Regions from separate parts of the Homo sapiens genome. Here region 2 is linked to region 1. The links are contacts of gene promoters, found by promoter capture Hi-C in human tissues and cell types (Jung and others, 2019). All regions are on one chromosome and are shown on one strand. The core of a region is centred on a gene start or on the middle of the fragment in contact, and the rest is flanking DNA. Distances in the headings are between cores, read along the strand shown.

What was found. The method cuts DNA at HindIII sites, captures the fragments that hold promoters and counts their contacts. A contact is called where the count stands out against the background at its distance.
Region 2: a contact is called between a fragment that was not itself captured here and the fragment with the promoter of VSIG2 in region 1, in 1 of the 25 tissues and cell types used here (neural progenitor cells).

The regions. Positions count from the first base shown.
Region 1 is chr11:124,750,545-124,754,431 of GRCh38, forward strand. It overlaps VSIG2 (V-set and immunoglobulin domain containing 2), which reads right to left and starts at 1,711. Exons shown (of 7, transcript NM_014312.5): 1 at 1,533-1,711; 2 at 879-1,036; 3 at 170-377. The coding sequence starts at 1,593. It overlaps ESAM (endothelial cell adhesion molecule), which reads right to left. Exons shown (of 7, transcript NM_138961.3): 6 at 3,670-3,796; 7 at 2,582-3,417. The coding sequence ends at 3,102. RefSeq lists enhancers at 909-1,470, 3,829-3,887. The HindIII fragment of the contact is 14,367 bases long and covers 1-3,887 here.
Region 2 is chr11:124,712,666-124,716,877 of GRCh38, forward strand. No RefSeq gene overlaps it. Among named protein-coding and RNA genes, the nearest start is that of NRGN, 25 kb to the right of the region's middle. The HindIII fragment of the contact is 4,012 bases long and covers 1-3,466 here.

The sequences.
Region 1 (3,887 bases), core at 461-2,960:
TATGACCATCTGAATTAGAAGACTTGGAAAGGGAGTATTTTCACTTGGGGCCCCCAGTGCAGTTGTGTGCTTGGGCTAAAAGTCAGAAACCAGAGATTTAGCAAGACCAGTGCAAACGCCCCAAGTATGTGAAAGAGTATGTGGCTCGTGGATCCCCAGTCTGCCTTACCCAGCACAGTAAGGTTGATTAGCCCCAACCCATTGGTGTAGAAATCTGGTGGGTTGTTGACTTGGCAGAGGTAGGTTCCAGTATCTGAGGGGTGGACGTCAGTCAGTTTCAGTGTGGCCACCCCCACTGTGGGGGGGTTCTGAAGCAGGCTGACCCGCTTTGACTTAGAACCAGTTGGATACAGATGGCCATTGGTGAAGTACAGGATCTGGGGAGAGGCAGAAGACACACATATGTGCCTGTTTCTGCCTGGCATCAACTCTACAGTCCTTCCTCATCAAAGTGGGTATAAGAGGCCTCTGACTTACATCAGCCAGGGAGGCTGATACCCTTAAGCTGGAACTCCAAAGGTCTCTCTGTCCCCAAACACCACCCCCTTTCAGGTGCTAAATGAACCTGATCCATTGGTCTCTCTCTCTCTCTCTCAAAGAGAGAGGCAGAAGAGGCAGCATATTATCTTGGTATCAGTCACAACACCTTAGTGTCAATGGATACACTAAGGCAGGGGAGTTGGAAATAGGAGCTATGGAAGAGGAAAGGAAGATACACGGTCAGGCAGACTGCAGCTCTGAAAAGATCTAGGGAGAGCCCACTTACCTTTTCATCCAAGCATACTGATCCCCAAACTCCCCCTCCCGACCCCATGCCCTCATCCTGGGCTCCTGTCCCTCCAGGCCAACCCAGCTTCATGCAGTCGCTCTCAGCTCACTGGATGGGACTCAGAGATGGGTTTCCCAGGCTGCACAAAGCTCCACTCCAGGGCGAAGCTGTCTCCCACCGACGTGCTGTAGGTGCAGGTCAGCTCGGCTGTCTTCCCCAGGGGCGTGCTCAGCGGCTCTGTGGGTACCTTCACCTCCACGGCCAGCCCTGGGGCCGGGGACCAGAGGGAGGTGGGAACCCAAATTCCAGTGATCTGGAGGGTCGGGCCCACCCCCGGGCATCTATATTGGAAGCTGGGGGCTCCCTCCCCAGAGCACAACCCTCTCCCCTCAATCCAACCCCTCCCTTCCCAAAACCTGAGGTTTCCGGGAGGGGCCGGGTCTTTGTGGGTAAAAGAGCCGGAACCGGGCCAGGTAAGAGGGTGTGTGTGTTTAGCAGAGAAAGGAAAACACTAGCCCTGCGGTGGGGTGGTTCAGGCCTGTGCCGCGGAGAGGCCCAACTCGCTCGCCGGCTTGGGGGTCTCTCTCCTACGCCCTCCGGGCCTTGGACACCCCCTCTCCGGCCTCACCTCAGGCGCCTTAGGGCCCCTGGCGCCCACGGCAGCCTCATCTGGCCTGGCGGGGACAGAGTGGGTCCGAGGAGCCGGGGAAGCCAGGCCTATGCCCCCCAGCCCTCGCCGTGGTCCCGCCCGGCCCCTCCTCACCACTCAGGCACAGGAAGCCTAGCAGGGCCCCGCAGAGAAAGGGCCCCGGGAGCTCGGCCATGGCCGCGTCCGGCCGTCCTGTCCTGCTCCTGCCAGGTGGGCGGTCAAGGTCGGTCTGGGTGTCGGGCAGGGAAGGGAGCACCCAAGGGCAGCCGCCCGGGCTGGGCAGGAGCGAGACTGGTATCTCAGAGCAAACAGGGGAGAGGCCGGCGCCGCAGGTTAAAAAAAAAAAAAAGTGCTCCTCCCTCCTCTCCTCCAGCCCCGATTCTGCAATCCCTCTGTCCCTTCTTCCTCCTTCCTTCCTCTTCTCCCCAAGGTCTGAAGCTGTCCGGCCTTGGGAAAAGCGCTGGGCTTGGGGTGGGCCTTCTGCAGAGACGGAAGGAAAGCTGACTTTGGAAGGCGTCCTGATACCCCAGAGCTGGCAAGGGGAGTCCCCACCTCGGAGCCTCACTGTGAGTGTGAGCCCCAGGCCGCAGACCCTTCCTGTCCACAGCGCTTTTCATTTCACCACTTACTGAGGTAGGAGTCTCTGTAGAAATGAGCATCTCTCCATTTCCAGAGCCACTCCATTTTAGGGGCAGAGAAACTGAGACCTAAAGGAGACCTCACCCTTGGTAGGAAAGAACATGGCAGAACTTGGACACAGACCTGCACCTCATACTATGCCCAGCTCTCCCTCAGTAACAACAGAGATCTCTTCCAGATGGGCAAGGAGTGTTTTGTTAAGGATTCCGTGGTGTGGGAGAGGAGCCCACGTGAGCTTCCTCTCCCCTGTCCCTGAAGAGGAAGCAGATGAGGTACACGTACCCCCTAGCCGGGAGCACTCAAGCTCCAGCAGAAAGCGTATCAACTCCATCCCTCTGCTGTTCAGAGTAGCTTAGAGTCTCCTCCCCTTCTCCACGTGACAAACAAGGACCCTTCTAAACACTAGAAGAGCTGCTCTAAGCCTGTGGGGGGAAGCCCTCCTGGGTACACAGCTTGGGAAGGGGTCCACTTTGCATCCTCCTGAAGCTCAATTTCAAGAATTCTTAGTTTGAAAAGGCAACTTGTTTCTTATCTCATACAAACATTATGTATCTTTATTTAAATTTGCAAATGAAAACAACACATATTTCATGTTAGTTTTAATAAGAGATTCCCTATCCTCTGCCCCAGTAAAACCTAACCAAGCCAGCCTGACAGGTTATATCAATACAGGGAGCTGGAGTGGGAGCCAAGGGTGGTGTTAGATAGGGGTGGGGTACAGATCAAGGGGGCCTGGGAGACTCAGTGACTGGAAGTCTCTGCCCCTCACTCTTGGTGAGTAGCTAATTTCAGCAGCTGGCTTCATAAGGAGGAGTCAGGGGTGGGTGGAGGCTCCTCCCAATTCCAGATCCACTTCCTCTTCTCCTTCTGTCTCCTGGACACTTAGGTCTTACTGAGATGGTTTTCCCACAGTAAAGAGAGGTGGGGGCAGAGTACTAAGGGTCAGGAGTGTGACTCTTTCCCATGACTCAGGCCTCTGTGCTAGAGGTGACCCTTATAGGAAGGAGAGACCCCAAATCCTTTAGCCAATGAGTGGTGGGGTCATCATACCAGAGAGCCAGCTTGACTCTGGGCAGGCACCATCACAGGCACAGCACCCATGCGGCTCAAGCCAGAGGAAGAAACCCCACCAGGGATGGGGGATATTGGTTGAGGGTGGGCCCCATCTGTCGTGGGCAGTCTTGGTGAGGGCAGGGCCTGGCTGGAGAGACTGGGCGTGGGGGTCAATGCACCAGGCCTGGGAGGGCCATGGGGTGGCCGGAGGGCTCGTGCGGAGGTGACAGAGGAAAGGGTCCCATTCTTGGAGATTGTGTCTGAGCTCTTGGGCCAGGGCAGGGTCCGGGGAGCAATGGCATCCTCCCTAGTCATCAAAGAAATAACAAGAGGTCAGAAGTGGGTGGGGGAAGGAGGAGAGAGTTTCTACCTGCTTGGTCTTATATACCACCTCTGCCTGCACACTTCAGTACTCCTTTCCCTCTCCCTTAAAACCTGCCCATAGGAATGATGTTTCAGCCACTGACCCCATCCCAATAGATGAGAGCTGCCTGAATTCCCAGCCTCTGTGAGGAGAGCTGGGAGAGCCCCCGCTGCAGCAGACACCAGGGACACTTACTTGATATCATTGGCTGGCTCCTCCAGGGCCTTGCCCCGGCGGTGGTACAAGAGGACCAGCCCAGCCAGCAACCCCAGTCCAACCAGGGTACCCACAACAGCTCCAGCAACCACTGCAGCTCCAGGCCCTGGAAAAGGCGTCGTGTCAGAGGAGGACACCCAGCTGAGGGGTTCTCACCCCTCTCCAATCCCACTCTCCCCACCCCATCTGCCACCATA
Region 2 (4,212 bases), core at 211-2,710, 38 kb before region 1:
GAATACTGTAGGCAATTGTGGCACAATGGCTAGTATTTGTGTATCTAAACATACCTAAACATAGAAAAGGTACAGTAAAAGTACAGTATAAAAGATTAAAAATGATACACCCGTATAGGGCACTCACCATGAATGGCGCTTGCAGGACTGGAAGTTGCTCTGGGTGAGTCAGTGAGTGACTGGTGAGTGAATGTGAAGGCCTAGGACATTACCATACACTACTGTAGACTTTGTCAACACTGTAAACACTGTACACTTAGGCTACACTAAATTTGTAAAAAATAATAATAAGTGTGCTACAAGGTTAGGATTGCTACGACCTCACTAGATTACAGGAATTTCTTCAACTAACTCCATCATAATCTAATGGAACCACCATTGTATATGCCATCTGTCATTGACTGAAATGTCATTACATGACACATGATGGTATATCTTTTGACCAACACCTCCCTATCCCCCCATCAACTACTCAAGCCTCTGGTCATCACCATTCTCCTTTCTACTTCCGTGAGATGGACTGTTTTAGATTCCACATATGACTGAAATCATTCAGTGTTCATTTTTCTGTGCCTGGCTTATTTCACTTAACATAATGTCCTCTGGGTTCATCCATGTCCATATGAATGACAGGATTCCGTTCTTTTTTACCGCCCAGTAGTATTCCATTGTGTGTATGTACCACTTTTTTTTTTTTTTTCGAGATGGAGTCTCACCCTGTTGCCCAGGCTGGAGTGCAGTGGCACAATCTCAGCTCAGTTCAAGCTCTGCCTCCTGGGTTCATGCCATTCTCCTGCTTCAGCCTCCAGAGTAGCTGGGACTACAGGTGCCCGCCACCACGCCAGGCTAATTTTTTTGTATTTTTAGTAGAGATGGACTTTCACCATGTTAGCCAGGATGGTCTCGATTTCCTGACCTCGTGATCTGCCTGCCTCAGCCTCTCAAAGTGCTGGGATTACAGGTGTGAGCCACAGCGCCCAGCCCCACATTTTCTTTATCCATTCATCTGTTGATGAACACTTAGATTGATTCCATATCTTGGTTATTGTGAGTAATGCTGCAATAAACATGGGAGTGCAGATAGCTCTTCAACATATTGATTTTATTTCCTTTAGATACATACACAGTAGTGGGATTGTCTTCAAACTTCTCAAGGAAATTATTTCAAACCTAGAATTCTGTGTCACCAAACTGTCCTACAAGTATGAGGGTAAAACAAAGATATTTTCAGACACACAATGGCTTAGATATTTTCTATTTTCCCTTCCAGACCTATTCTTCATTGTGTTTATGCACTAGGAGGATTTTTTAAATAAACTGCATCAATGAGCTCCTTAGCCTTCTAGGTTGGACAATGGCAGGCACCAGGAGGAGATCAGAGGGTGGGAGGAGAGCAAGGTGATGCTATTCATTCCCCTTGCCTCCCTCCCTGGTTCTCATGGATTGCCTGCATCCCTCAACCAAAGGCCACAGCTCTTATCATACAGTCCTCTCCTCTAGCTACTCTCCAGGTTCTAGTAACTGCTTCCTCCCCTTGATCCTTCGGCCTACCATCAACATCTCTGAGGTTCTGTCCCATCTCTTAATGTTTTTTATTTACTCCAGAGCATCAGCTATCTATTGCAACATTAATGCTGCATAACCACTACGCCAAAGTCCAGTGTCTTTTAAAAGACTATTTTTTTCTCATACATCTGCAGGTCAGCTAGAGTGGGGCTGAGTTACGCTGGGCTCAGTTGAGCATCTTTACCTCATGCCTTGCTAGCTAGAGCAGCTATGCTTCCCACTGTAGATCTATGAGGTGGTTGGAGCAACTCTGTTCCCCATGTATCTCATCTTCATTAGATCAGCAAACATGTTGCTTGTGGCAGCAGAGGCACACAAGAACAAACAAAAATACATGATGCCTATGAAAGCCTAAGCTTAGAACTGCCATGCTGTCATTCCCACTCGCATGTCATTGGCTAAAACAAATCACACGGCCAAGCCCAACGACACAAGGCAGGGAAGCACGGTCCACCCATCAAGAGGGCATGAAAGGATACAGATACAGATAAGAATGAAGAATTGAAGTCAATTTTTTAATCTGCCACCCTGCCTTCATCTTTATAAATATTACCTTTATTAAATCCACGTCAATTACCCCTATTCTCGTGTACCTGAGCACCTAGAGCTTAGCCACATTTGAGTGTGGCTTAGTGGTTGCCTCATGTTGCCTTCTGGGTTCCAGAGAAATATAGGAATAGGTACCAGGAAGGGCCCAAGAAAACAGAACCCCACAGTAGGATTCTGAAATTCTATTGCTTTTATACTTAAGAAGCACAAAACTTCTTAAGTAACCTCCTTACCAGGAGAACAGTGGATACTGGTAATCCATGGCATTCAGTGACATAACAGTGACTAGACTTACCATTGTTGGTGGCAAGGAATAAATTCAAGGAGGATGGCAATAGAAATAAAGTGACTGTGGTACTTAGTCACCATGGTGACAATAGTGATTATAAAGACTGTGGAGTCAACTGACTGTCTCTGATGGCTCTAAAGAGTAAACACGGAAAAAAACATATTGAAAGCCTTGCATACCCAACTGAAAACATTATGGGAAATCAGAACATCTCTACAGTAGCTCTAATGGAGTCCTTCTCCTCTAGTCAATGGACTGATATGGAAGAAGACCACATCTGAAAAATGATGTTAATAGCTGCAGAGATGCAAAACCAATTAAATACTCAAATCCTTCCGTTTCAATTTCTTACAATATGCAAAGGGTACTAAGGGAGAGAGATGGGACCCTGAGAGATGCGATATAGACATTTGTGTAGACATGGATGAGACTAAGAATCTGAATCCTAAAATCCCCCTAAACCTCTCTGAGGAGGTTTATACCCTGCAACCCCAACTCCATTGAATAAAATCCTTTCAATGACTATTCCTCAGGCAGTTCCCTTACAAAAAAAAAATGTGACTTTCCTCAAGACCCACCTCCACTGCCCCTCATTGCTTCCAGATCCACAAAGAAAGTAAAATGCCAGCATAGTCCAGATTGCAAAGTATAGAGGCTAGGCCTCAAGGAGATAGACTTTATGCCAAAAGAGTTGCAGAACTTCATTAACTTTTATCAGCAGGAGTCTGGAGAACATTTATTTAAGTGGATTGTAAGGTTGTTAGGCCAAGAAGAATGTAACTTAAGACTTGATTAAGCTGAATTTATTGAAATGGGTGCACAATTGGGAATCAGTATTTAATGTCATGGTTTGAGCACTTGGGAAGCGGCACTAATAGTCGGCTAGATTGGTCAATCTCAACAGCAAGCCACAGTCAGTAAAGATGAAATGCCAGAACTTGGCATACTATAGACAGAGGAAGAAGTCTAAATGTGAACAGGCATGAGAAAGCTAAAATGGATCTATTATATGCAGCTTGATTAACCCCTCCTAGCCATATCCCCCCAGGAAGGCCCAGAGGATACTCCCTTCTTTAAGGCAGTAAGAAAGGAATTAAACTGACTAATCCTAAAACCTGAAATCCTACCTTGGTTCACTAATCAGAATGTGCTTATGGAAGTCAGGTAAAAGCGGGAGTTTTGGTCTAAGTCCAGTGGGATCATGGATTCATTTTGTGGCTCCCAGCCTCAGGAGGTATATTTAAAATAGATATATTTAGTAATTAAAAGACCCTCACATCTGAGCTGCAGTGAGCCAAGATCGCGCCAGTGCACTCCAGCCTGGGTGACAGAGTGAGACTCGGTCTCCAGGAAAAAAAAAAAAAAAACAACCAAAAAACTGCCGAGATCCTCATATCTATTTCCTAGCTCACAGAGTGAGGTATCCTATGGCCATAAGGGAGGAGCCAGTAGCAAGTAGAAGACCCTAGAATTGCCCTACCCAACCCACTCCCCCATGCCAAACTAGTAACCCAAAGTAAACCCACTACCCCAGAGGAACTGCAGGGTTAGTGCCACCCATTAAAGGCTTGACAGAGGCAGAGGTGGGATTCTAACCACATCTCCACTTAACTTCCTTCCTGGCTCTTAGAAAAGCCAGATGGTTTTGGAGAATGACTGTGGATTATTACACACTTAATCAGCAGTGCCACAATGCAGCCCTTGGAAGCTGGTATGCAGATATTAGCCTAACAAATTCCTCCCCCCAACCCATTCCTACCGCCAAAGGAAATCAGAAGCAATCTCTTACCTCAGGCTATGGCAGTGCT